2 separate regions of the Homo sapiens genome follow, and region 1 is linked to region 2. Evidence: promoter capture Hi-C in 16 types of primary human blood cells and fetal thymus (Javierre and others, 2016). All regions are on one chromosome and are shown on one strand. Each heading gives the region's core, a stretch centred on a gene start or on the middle of the fragment in contact. The rest is flanking DNA. Distances are from core to core; before and after follow the strand shown. Region 1 overlaps ZFY (zinc finger protein Y-linked). Region 2 holds the start of RPS4Y1 (ribosomal protein S4 Y-linked 1).

Region 1 (6,574 bases), core at 1,905-4,404, 110 kb before region 2:
TTTGCACTTGGATAGGTGCCAGCTGTAAAATTTCTTACAAGAATAAAGAGAAATTCCAGCTCTTAGGAAAATGAAAAAAAAAATTATTTTTACAGAATGAAAAGCTTAGATTCTGTTGAGTGGAAAAAAGCCTAGATTTCCTTAAATAAACCAATAAGTAAAAACATGAATGTTAAAAATAACAGGCCGGGCACAGTGGCTCATGCCTGTAATCGCAACACTTTGGGAGGCTGAGGTGGGAGGATAGCCTGAGCTCAGGAATTCAAGATCAGCCTGAGCAGTACAGCAAAACCTCATCTCTATTTTAAAAAATTCCCCAGGCATGGTGGTGTGTGCCTGTAGTTCCAGCTACTCAGGAGGCTGAGGCGGGTGGATCACTTGAGCCCAGAAGGTTGAGGCTGCAGTGAGGAGCCATAATCATGTCACTGCCCTTCAGCCCTGGTGACACAGTGAGACCCTATCTCAAAAACAAAAAAAAAAAACCAGTAACAACTCTGCCAGTGAGAATCCAGAGGGAGAAGGGATCAAGGTAGAGAAATCCTACATGGACTCAGAGAATACCTACGTCATGTATGACTGCTAGTAGAAATCTGGAGTTTTGTAACACTGCTTGTAAGGGCTTAAAAGTGAGTTTCTATCTGAAGGAAAGAAGAGCTTTGTTACATAAAAAGACAGACCACTTAGCAAAACTGTCTCCCTGGGTTATGTGGAAAGCACAACTTGAAGACAAACCACTTAGCAAAATTGTCTCCCTTGGTTATGTGGAAAAAACAACTTGTAAAAATCAACTCTTTAGCTCAGAAGATTTCAGCAAAGTGTTGGACAAGTGGTCTTGTTTCTACTTAATGCTTAGAGTAAAATTCAGTGAGAAAAATGAATAGTTGGAATATTTATTAAACAAAAAGATAGCAAAACATGACAAAATCAGAAGTTTTCTGTCCATCTTGGGGGCGGGGGGGGGGTGGGGGTGAAAGGGGAGGTTAAATTAAGGAGATTCCTTGTCAGAGCAAAGCCTCATCTGTATTTACAGCCACTTCCCATCACCGGCATCACTGCCTGAGCTCTCGCCTCCTGTCAGGTCAGAAGCAACATTACATTCTCATAGGAATGCAAACCGTACTGTAAACTGCACACGTGAGGGATCTAGGTTGCATGTTCCTTATAAGAATCTAATGCCTGATGATCTGTCTCCTACCCCCAGATGGGATGGCATAGTTTCAGGAAAACAAGCTCAGGGCTCCCACTGATTCTAAATTATGGTGAACTGTATAATTGTTTCATTATATATTACACATAATAATAATACAAATGAAGTGCACAATAAATGTAATGCACTTCATTCATCTAGTAACTATCCCCCGAACCCCACTACTCCCAGGTCTCTGGAAAAATTGTCTTCCATGAAACCAGTCCCTGGTACTCAAAAAGGTGGGGAACGCTGATTTAGAGAGAGAGAAAAAAACAGTATGTGATTCTCAACTATTCCATGAACCCTCAGAAAAAACAAAAGATTCCTTCAGGCACCCGATCATTAAACAAGAAAAGTAAAAGTTAAGGAAAAAGGAAAGAAAGGGAAAAGCCAAGGTGAAAGAAAAAGAAAGAGGAAAGAAAAAGAAAAGGCAAGGGGTAAGGAAAGGTAAGGTAAGGTAAAGTAAAGTAAGGTAAGGTAAGGTAAAAAGAAAAAGGAAAGGAAGTGGAGGGAAAGGAAAGGGAAAGATCAAAAGGCCAGAGAATTAAGTCTTTTTCAAGCAAGTAAAAGTGTGACTTACACATACCCAACACCTCTAAGAAATCTAAGGATATTGGACTTCAACCATTTTAGCAGAAGTCAAAAACAGACATGGGATAATCTCAGAAAAAAAATATATTAGCCTCTTGCCTAATACAATAAATCCCCATGACACACGCAAAATTTTTTTCAAAAGAAGCACTGCTAGCTTAAACGGAAAGGGACACAGAATCAATATAATGAAGACAGTTGGACTGACAGAATTCCAGAGGCAGGAAGCAGGAAATAAAACTATTCAGCTGCAAATACCTGCTATCTTTGAAAAAAATGGCAAGGAAGACTCAAAGGGCGGAGCCACAGGCCAAAAAGGATTATTCCCAGGTCTTGAAACCTAATGGGAGTTTGTCCAGCTGCATTTCAAAATTTCTTCAGACAAATTTCTCTTACCTTTCATGTCACCCTGTTTGAACCAGAATATCCCAAACTGTCCTACCACTGTACTTTGGGAAGCAGATAAAGAGGAATTATGTCCCAGGAGTTGCACTTAATGACTGATACCCAGAGAATAAGCATCTGATTTAAATGATACTTAGGACTTCTGAGCTGATTAATTTCAGGTAAGATTTTTTTTTTTTGGACTGGGAACTTTAAGAGAGGGTGGATGTTATTTTACATTTGCCAGAGACATATTTGAGAACCGGGGTGAAGATGGTGGCAGGGAGAATGGTCCTTTCACAAAGATGTCCATAAACTAATCCTTATAAATCTTGAAAATATGTTACTTGATATGGCAAAAGAAATTTTTCAGGTATAATTAAGATTATGAACTTAAAATTGGGCAATTATCTTGGATTACCCTGGTGCATCAAATCTAATCATGTGAGCTCTTAAACTGAATAGTTTTCTGGCTAGATTCAAGAAGACGGATGTGATAGAGGGGAAGATCAGAAAGACTAAAAACATAAGATGGACTCCACTCACTGCTGCTTCAGGAAACCACCATGCAAAGCATGAGAAGAAATGTGGGCAGGCTCTGAAAGCAAAAAATGGCCCTGGATGATGAACTGTAGGGAACAACAGTATCTCCATTGTGCAACAAAAAGAAACTAAATTTGGCTAAAAGTATGGATATTCTTCGAAGTCAAGAGCCTCCAGCCCTGCAGATAGCTTATTTTATTTATTTATTTATTTATTTATTTATTTATTTATTTATTTATTTTTTGAGACACTGTCTTGTTCTGTTACCCAGGCTGGGGTACAGCTGTGCCATTATAGCTCACCACAGCCTTTAACTTCTGGTAAAACAATCCTCCTACCTCAGCCTCCAGAGCAGCTAGAACTAGAGATATGCACCACCATGCTCAGCTAATTAAAAAAAAATTTTTTTTTCTGTAGACACAGGTTTCCATTGGGTTGTCCACCACCCACGATGGTCTCCAATTCCTGATCTCAAGCAATCCTCACAATTGAGCCTTCCAAAGCAATGAGATTACAGATGTGAGCCACCACACCTGGCCAACATCTTAATTTTAACCTTGTATAATTCTACACGCAGAACTCAATTGAGCCACATTTCTGACCTATAGAACTCTGAGATAAATTTGTCCTGTTTTAGATTAGTAAATTTGCTGAAATGTACCAATAGAAAAATAGAAAACTAGCACAAACAGAAAACATTTCAAAGGGAGAACTAGCAGGCTTTAGTTGCATAACTGGAAAAACTGGAATAACTGAAGGGTAACAGTAAGATTTTGATATTGATGGCTTAACTAACAAGATTATGAGTTGGCTATGAGATTCTGACAGGACCTAAGTATGGACCTAAGTACCTAAATATGGATTAACATCAGATTCTGCAATTTTGGTAAGTAATTCAAAATCTGGCAGATGGGAAGTGAAACAACCCAATAAATAGTAATACCTATTCCATCAAAAAATGAGTTTGGCTCTTGTGGCTGCAATTCAAATTCATCTTCATCCATGGCCTTTAATTCTCATTAGTCACAGCTCCTAAACCAGGGAATAAAGTATACCAAACATTAATTTTTATATCACATATTAAAATGTCATGATATTCACATTTCTGAAATGCTCAAATTATTTTTTACTAAGCTATCAATGTAAAATTAAAGGGAACAAATTGATTTCCAGGGATACATGGGCTGCAACAAGACAGGAAAGGGCAGGTAGATCAAATCAGATTGACAGTGTTTCTGTTTTTTTGTTTTTTAAAGATTTTGGGTCTTGCTATGTTCCTCACACTAGCTTAGTATTCCAGGGCTCAAGTAATTCTTCCTCCCTCAGCCTACTGAGTGGGTGGGACTACAGGCCGCCATATCTGGCTTGTTTAGATTTTTTAAAAAGTTCAATTATCATCTTATATAAAATTCACAATGCTTAAGTATTTAGCATAACAAATTTTTACCTAAGTGTTAACTGGAATTTGCATTATTTATGTTAAGTACGTAAGTGTTAACTGGTACTTGCATTATTTATATTAAGATAACAGAACATTTCTTACACACCAGATGACTCCCTCTTGCCTTCTATCAGTAACCCCCATGATTTTTTTTTTTTTTTTTGTAAACAGGGCCTCTGGCTCTGTCATACAGGCTAAACTGTAAGTGGCACAGTTCACTGCAGCCTCAACTTCTCAGGCTCAAGCAATGCTCACCCCTCAGCCCAACTACTTGGGACTACAAGTATGTGTCACCAAACCTGGCTAATTTTTAAAGTATCTTTTTGTATAGACAAGGTCTAACTATGTTGCCCAGGCTGGTGTCAAAGTCCTGAGCTTGAGCAATCCTCCCACCTCAGCCTCACAAAGTACTGGGATTACAGGAATGTTATTGTGTCTGGCACCCATGATTAACTCTCAACTTTAACACATTCTGTAGGTTTTTGCTGCAAGACTGTATTACATCTCTATATTTAACATAGTCTCCAGTCTTTCTACAGTAAATTAACAAAATGGTAAAAAACTCAAAATTCCTAATAATTATAAGCACTCCTCAGATTTCTGTGTAGCTTAAAAGCCCTCCCCATTCTCTCCCCTCAGAGACAGGGTCTCACCCTGTCACCCAGACTGGAGTGCAGTGGCATGATCATGGCTCACTGCAGCCTCCAACTCCTAGGCTCAAGTAATCCTCTTACTTCAGCCTCCCAAGCAGCTAGGACTAATGACACATGCCACTATGTCCAGCTCCCTTACTGTATTTTTAGCACATGCTATGGTCACTTATGTGTGTCAATTTTCAAATATTAAACTATATGATAAGGCAATATGCAAGTGAGAAACCAATGGATTTCCAAAGTGTTTCTCTGAAACAGATCTACTCAATTTAAAGAAAGTGTGTTTTATGACATTCAAACTGCTTCAAATAAAAAGGCCATGATGACTACACTAATATTTTGTCAACCACAGAAAAAGAAAAAGGGCACCTGCTCTAAATAAGCTGTCACTGCTCCCTCTACCCAAACAATCTCTGGCTTCATTAATTTTTCCCCTCTTAAAAAAATGTAATTATAAAATTATAAATGCAAACTAATCTTCTCTGCATAATTAAAGAAAACCACATGAAATTAAGGCAATGAATGATGGAATAAATGTGATTTGTTGGATTATTGAAGTGACCTTCCAATTTTCCTAAAAACAGCAATTTCATTAGTTCTAATAAAAGATCAACTTGTGGGCCAGGCATGGTGGCTCACGCCTGTAATCCCAGGACTTTAGGAAGCTGAGGCAGGTGGATCACAAGGTCAGGAGATCAAGACCACCTGGTGTCTTGACAGTACAGACAGTGAAACCCTGTCTCTACTAAAAATACAAAAAATTAGCCGGGCACTGTGACGGGCATCTGTAGTCCCAGCTACTCGGAAGGCTGAGGCAGGAGAATGGTGTGAACCCGGGAGACGGAGCTCGCAGTGGGCCGAGATCGTGCCACTGCACTCCAGCCTGGGCGACAGAGCGAGACTCCATCTCAAAAAAAAAAAAAAAAAGATCAACTTGTAGCGTAATTTTCCTGTTTCAGGTATTCATCTTCCTTACCTGTCTGTTAGAGTCTGATAGATGATCAGTTTCTTTAATTTTGAAACTCCCTCCTACCTCTTTGTTTATATGATATCTTAGTTCTCTTCTCACCTTCTTAACCGATGGCTACTATAGTCTTGTCCAAGGTTTCACATTCAGCTTTCCTCTCTACTACTTTCTCATTTATTTCCACAGTTTTTAATGACGACTTACGTGAAGATGATCCCCAAAATCCACACGCTGAGAAGGACCTAAAATTTCCATCAGACCGTTTACTGAACATCTTCAAAAATTAAAACCCAGATTTTTCCTGGCACAATCACTATGGCCTTTTCCTCCTTCCCTGACAGTTGGTTTCTCAGATCTTGTCAATTTCTTCTCCACAATTTCTCTGTTATGTTTGCCCTGCTTGTATTCCCATTATCACCAATCACTCTAAGCTTCCTATTTTCTGATCCCTAGAAATGAAAATAGTTTCTGAAATGGCCTTTGTAACACTTCCAAAACAAATGACTAGGAAACCTATTATAAGAAGGGGGTCTTGTAATGCCAACTAACAAGGCATTCCTACAATCTGTAGCCAGATGAATCTTCTTGAAGCACTGCTTTGATCACTCCCTTACCAAGAAGCAGTCTCCAATATTCAGTGACCTCCACATTATTAACCCAAGCTACCACATGACTTATTTACTGTTATTACTCAACTTTGCAACCTAGCTGGACAGCATGTCATTCTTCAAACGATCTTTATGTTTTTACCCTGGCACTCAACATCCTAGAATTTTCTAGGAGGTGAGGTCTTGAAAAAGTGGAGC
Region 2 (6,200 bases), core at 3,541-6,040:
GACCCTAAATCCAGGGAAAAGAGGAATGGATGACTGAAGGGTGATCCTGGTTTCCAAAGAGGTCTTCCCTACACAGAAAAATGGAAGGTGCTGTCCACACAGAAAGCAACTCCCTTGAAAGTTTCCTTGAAACTTCAGCCATTAAATCTGGGGAGGGAAGAGGGAGTTTTAAGGGCAGAGGCAGACATCAGGCAGTCAATCATCTTCTATGTCTAGCAAGTGCAAGGCAGCACTACTACTAACATAGTCACAGAAACCTGGCAGGAAAGCATATTATCACCATTTACAAGGAAAACAAAGACTCAAAAAAGGTTCTATGTACTGTTGCCTGCAGTTACACAATTAATCAATGACAAGAAATCTGGATTTCTACCCAGGCCTTCCTGGTCAATATCACAGATCTTTCCTGTACAGAAATATCTTGTCCTTCAGAGAACTCCTTACTTGTAATCCCGTTTCTAAAACAGTCTTGTGTGGAAAATCCATTACTTTCTATCAGTGTGCACCTACATGCCTGGATTAAACAACCAGACAAACAAGTAGAGATAGGAAATATTCCCGGAATCTGGCTTAAACACCCTCTGACAAACTTAGCAACCGACCTATCTGTCTGGAAATTACAAAGCTCACTTGACTTGTGCAACATACCTTTGCCTCTTCCACTGTGATGCGGTGAACAGCAAAACGGCCCTTGGTGTCATAGACCAGGCGGAAATGTTCACCTGTCTTCTCGATGCTGATGACATCTGATCACAAAAGGGTATAAGGAACATCGTTAACACAAACACAAAGTTTCTTTTGCCTGCACAGCAGGAACACTCTATGCCAGGTTGAACCTGAGAACGTTTTAGCAGCCTAGGAGTCCCCAGGGCTTGGCGGAGGTGCTTGAATGAAACCAACCAACCCCTGCTCCTCTCCCAATACATGTCATCCAACAAAAGAAAGTGAATACATTTATGGCTGCTCTATTGCTTCCTATGTTCTTGTGCAATAGCTGCTTGAGACTGTGTGCTGGGTTAACGCACTCAGGATCCTGAGGAGAAAACATACATGAGCACACCCACAAATACCAGGAAACCAAATGAACAAGCAGACCTCACATTTAAGCAAGCAAGGCTCCAGGCTCAGCAGGCTGCCCAATCAATGTCCTGGCCCCATTTACGCCCTCCATGACTTCGCTTATCAGGAGTCCTGCCTCACTCAGGATTTGGGGTTTTGAGAAACAAAGCAAAATGCTAAAAAAAAAAAAGAGGAAGGAAGGAAAGTAAGAAAAGGAAGGTCTGTCTTTTCTAACTCAGTGGCTGGATCCTAGGAATGTCCGGCCTGGAACCCCATCCACTCGGTAGCATCCACACCTGACAAAGTAATCATCCCCCTGCTTTCTGGACAATGCTAGGCTAAAAAGCTGTACTGAGCCTTTCACCATGAAAAGGGTGAACAAAGCACTAGGTCAGAATTCCTTACCTTTCCCTACCTTCCCTCTTGGTACACTTTTTCCCTAGAGGTGTGTGACCCTTCTGCCCCTCCTCCACCCTCCCCGCCAAAAAAAGCTGCAAATCCATCCTTGGAGATCCAGAATAGTTAAGTCATCAACGAAGTGGGAAGACAGAGCCAAAACCCTGTTCACTGACAAAGATTCTCTCCTTGACCAATCGTTAGCCAGTTTCCTCTGAGCCCTCTTCTTGGCTAAGCTTCAACCTTGACCTATGAAGACCTCAACACTAACACAGCTTCTAAAAGCTCAAGATGAGCCCAGTCTGCCTCAAAATGCCTGCCTGAGAAAACTCAAGGCTGCCAAAAGAATTTACTGTTTGTTCCAGCCAACACCTAAGGACAGCTCCTCTGTCTCCCAGTCTCTGCCGGGAAGGTAGGAGCCTAACTTTGATAATCCGCCAGCATGCAGCCACTGCTGGCCTCATCCCATTTACATTATCAACCCCTTTCCAGCTTTTCACTTGAGCCTTGCCACTCCTCTCCCTATCCCTCATTCTCCTTCTGAAAGGACCAGCAGTAACTTCTGCAGAAATCTGAAGTTCAGTGTCCAGTTTTATCACTGGCAACATGAGAGCCCTACATCTTGTCCTTCTCTCAACCTGTTCCTTCTTCAAAACAAAACAAAGAACTCTTTCCTTACCCATGAATCCAGCAGGGTATGTGACATCCACTCGAACCTTGCCATCAATTTTGATGAAACGTTGCATACATATCTTCTTTACCTCATCTCCAGTCAACGCATACTTGAGTCTATTCCTGAGGAAGACGATCAGAGGAAGACATTCCCTCAGCTTGTGGGGACCTGTCGATGGACGAGGTGCCTGTAGAAGACAAGGAAAGGTAACCTAATCTAAGAAGATCCACTCCTTATGTAACCAGATTGAGCAGATGACGTACTTTAGTTCTGCATAAGTTCAGCTGAACTTAACTTGTTGTGGGGAAGAGGAATACAAGAGGGCAATTATTTTATTAGTTTAGAGGTCTGTCTTGTTAGGAAGGTCATATCCCCAACCATGGAAATCTCATTTTGTGCCCCTTCCTTCCCCAAATCTAGCCTCACAACCATCTCCCCATTTTGCCCTGCCCCAAGCACCACTGCCACTCATACTCCTTCTTCAAACCTCCCTTGAACACAACACTACATCCCATGTATCTCAAGTGTAGCTTACGCTTTACCCAAAACCTTATGAAGACATATTCTACTACTCTCTCACCATGCCAGGCTTCAAAGTTCCACACAAGCCCTGCCGATGTTGCAGGACCACCCTGTAATACCCAATGTGCGTTCCTCCTCTCTTGGCTGCTTGCCGGCTTAAGTGTCATCAAATTCACACCGCAACAAATCCTGTAACCTATACTCTCGCAGTTTTGGTGTTATACTGTCCTTAGGATATCTGCTACCAGTACATATAAAAGTCTCAAGGTCTGTCTTGAACACCACTCCCCAATTACCTTTTAAGTTTGGATCACACAAGAATCTCTTCCAATGGAGACCGTTCAAGCTGCTTCTACAGATCCCTCTCTAGCTTTGTCTCTCTTAAAACGGACTCGCGATCATTAACCACACACTTTCATCAATGTCACAGGGAAAAGGAGAGGAACCCACAAGACTAAGGGACCAAGTTCCCAGCAAGTCTTCTTAAAGAGTGCCTTGCTCATCCACTTAACAATAGAGAAAACAATGGCCCATCCAGGGAGGTCAAATAGTAGGTGACAGTAGCAGAGGTAGCACTTGGAAGCAGAAACTGACAGGGACAGGTTGCAAATCCAGGTCCCCAGCCAACACACTGCCTATGTTCTCTCTGAAAATATCAGAACAAGGAAGACAAGTTTCTACTACTCAGTGTTCAGAGTTCAAACTGTACCAAGAAGAGGCCAAATCAAGTTAGTTACTAAGTGCCTCCTAAATGGAGACCCTCAGAGCTAAATATAGTCTCTTACCACATTTATTCCTGCTCAAAAAACCCTTGGCATCTTAAGCGCCTCGATTCTGTCTTCTTCACACTGGCTCCTCTCTGTCTCAGAAGACCAAGACTTTACAGTTTTAACCACTCTCTCCTAGTGTGACCACACCATCAATGTGGAAATTGCCTAGTCTCCTTGTGAGATGCTTGCCTACTGTGCCTCTGAGTATACTGCCCTCATCCTGCCAGGTCTTCAAGGTTGGGTTCAAGAGCCTCCAGACTTTCTCACACAACTTCTTGCCCTTGTTTCGTGGGCTCCTGTAGCCTTTACTATTAAACCAGTAACTCGGGCTCAACGTAAAAAGCAGCTACTCCACCCTCTAAAACAAGGGGTAACTTTAAATTAAACGCATTTGATTATTAATGGGGGACTCAGCGGACTGTCACTGAACTCCTTTCTTATGTGGAATTGGACACATTCATTAACCCACCCAGCTCTGGGCTCAGGAAGTGCCCTCTGAAGTGGCGAGCTAAAAGAGCAAAGGAAACCATCGGGACGTGACATCCTGGCCCTTTGTTGCACAGAAAAGTGCAAGGACAAGTTCAGGGTGCGGGAAGTCTTTACCAACGAAAATCCCACATAACAAACAAGCAAACGCCGCCCCCAAGAAATACCGAGCCACAGGTATTTAGCATGCACTCTTGACTAAAAAAAACAAAAAAAAACCACAAAAAACAAAGTTATACTCACAAATACACCCGTTAGTTTGTCAAGCATCCAATGCTTCGGCGCTGCAACACGCTTTAAGTGCTTCTTGGGGCCCCGGGCCTGAAAAGGACACGAAACTCAGAGAAATTAGTTTCCGCTGACAGTGAAATGCCCTCATCTTCAGCTGTAGGAACTGCTAACGGGTAATACCTGACTCAAGGAGAAAAGATCGCCCAGCCCATACTCAAGCCCCGTTTTGAACAAATATTACTTCCTGCCAGACCCCAGAAGAGACCACGCAAAGCACAGACCTTTGAAAACTTGGCGGGTCTCCCTAGCATCCGTCAAGAGAGCGTCCACAGTGCTCTCCAAGCGAATCTGAGGCTGCTTCAACGTGTGAAAATAAGCTAATCCGGGTAAAAAGCCACTGCCGGGCTGCGTCAAGGATGGACTCACGTGACGGCCCCCAGACCGAGCACAACGAGACACACTCTTCTCAGACCTCCCCTCTCCAAATCGGGTTTCCTGAAGCAGCACCAGCAGCATTCCCACCCACCAAGTAGGGGCGACCGAAAAGTGAAACATCGCCAAGGTAGAACGGCCCTTTTTCAAATGATGGAGGCAGATATACTAGGAGTTAGGAACTATCGGTCTTACCATGGCGAAACTCTGCGACGGAAGAGAATCTGTTCTTTTCCGGTGCAACCAAAGTCTGTTGTCGTAAACCGCAGGAAGTCAGATGAGTGAGAAGTTTAGTTCCGGTTTCTTATTCTTCCGCTGTAGAGTTCATATCCTGGAACTGAATTTCTTAGCATTTTCAGTTTCTGATACTGATTTACAGGTGTCAGTTATGCCGCAGGACTTTTTGTTGTGCCTACCCCCCGTCAAGTTGGCTGAGCTGGGAGGACGCAGTTTACACTCTTAAACTTATCTTTCGCCGACCTTCAAAATATTTAGCAAAAGTCCTGAAACAGCACGATTTAGGAGCCTTAAAAAAAAATGCCAATCGTGAGAAATAACCTATATGATTCCTTGTGACTGTGACATGCTGTGATTGCAAAATCATGATTTGTTTCAGAGACAAATCATTCCTTGTTCAGGATTGGGGCCAATTTCATAGGTTTGGGAAAGTACTAAAATCGTCTGTACCGTAAACATTGAAAGGATAGGTTTCATGGCATTTGAATTTTAAGTCGAATACCTTGCTTTGGATTAGCTCGTGATGATGGCTGCACAGCTCTGTCCATGTCGTAAAACCTGCAAAACAATTCACTTTTAAGAGAGTGAAGTCCGCTATGTAAGTTGTACTGCGCAGGCGTGTGTGTGGTCACAGCTTCCATTGGAATTTTTCACGCGCGTCCGCCTGACAGAATTGATATACAAAAAACAACCAGCCAGGCCGGGCACGGTGGCTCACTTCTGTAATCCCAGCTCTTTGGGAGGCCGAGGTGGGCGGATCACGAGGTCAGGAGATCGAGACCATCCTGGCTAACACGGTGAAACCTCGTCTCTACTAAAAATAAAAATACAAAAAATTAGCCGGGCGTGGTGGCGGGCGCCTGTAGTCCCAGCTACTCGGGAGGCTGAGGCAGGAGAATGGCGTGAACCCGGGAGGCGGAGCTTGCAGTGAGCCGAGATCGCGCCACTGCACTCCAGCCTGGGTGACAGAGCAAGACTCCGTCTCAAAATAAACTAAATTAAATTAAATTAAAACAAAAAAACAACCAGTCAAATGAAGCTGCACTTCCTTAATGTGTACAATTTGATGAGTATGGACATAGGCGTAAATCCACGATACCACCATCACAATCGAGGTAATGAACATCTCCATCACCTCCAAAAGTTTCCTTGTGTTCCTTTCTGGTTATTCTCTCTCTCTCTCTCTCTCTCTCTCTCTCTCTCTCTCTCTCTCTCGGCCAGTGCACAGGTTGGTTTCATACATTTTAGGAAGGCAAGATGTAAGATGTACATGGTGCAGGACATTGGGGTGGCTTGGTGGGGGGCTGGGGCAGTGGGAAGGTAGAGTTTGATGTCGTAAGAGACAAATGGTTGCATTATTTTGGGTCTCTGATCAGCCTTTCACTAAATACACA

The links. The method cuts DNA at HindIII sites, captures the fragments that hold promoters and counts their contacts. A CHiCAGO score of 5 or more calls a contact.
Region 1: a contact is called between a fragment that was not itself captured here and the fragment with the promoter of RPS4Y1 in region 2, in 1 of 17 cell types (naive CD4 T cells). The highest score is 5.1, in naive CD4 T cells.

Annotation. Positions count from the first base shown.
Region 1 is chrY:2,951,074-2,957,647 of GRCh38, reverse strand. ZFY (zinc finger protein Y-linked) reads right to left here. Exons shown (of 8, transcript NM_003411.4): 2 at 3,651-3,739. The coding sequence starts at 3,711. Among named protein-coding and RNA genes, the nearest start is that of ZFY, 19 kb to the right of the region's middle. The HindIII fragment of the contact is 6,095 bases long and covers 107-6,201 here.
Region 2 is chrY:2,840,192-2,846,391 of GRCh38, reverse strand. RPS4Y1 (ribosomal protein S4 Y-linked 1) reads right to left here and starts at 4,790. Exons shown (of 7, transcript NM_001008.4): 1 at 4,765-4,790; 2 at 4,150-4,227; 3 at 2,135-2,315; 4 at 649-746. The coding sequence starts at 4,767. The HindIII fragment of the contact is 6,443 bases long and covers 1,694-6,200 here.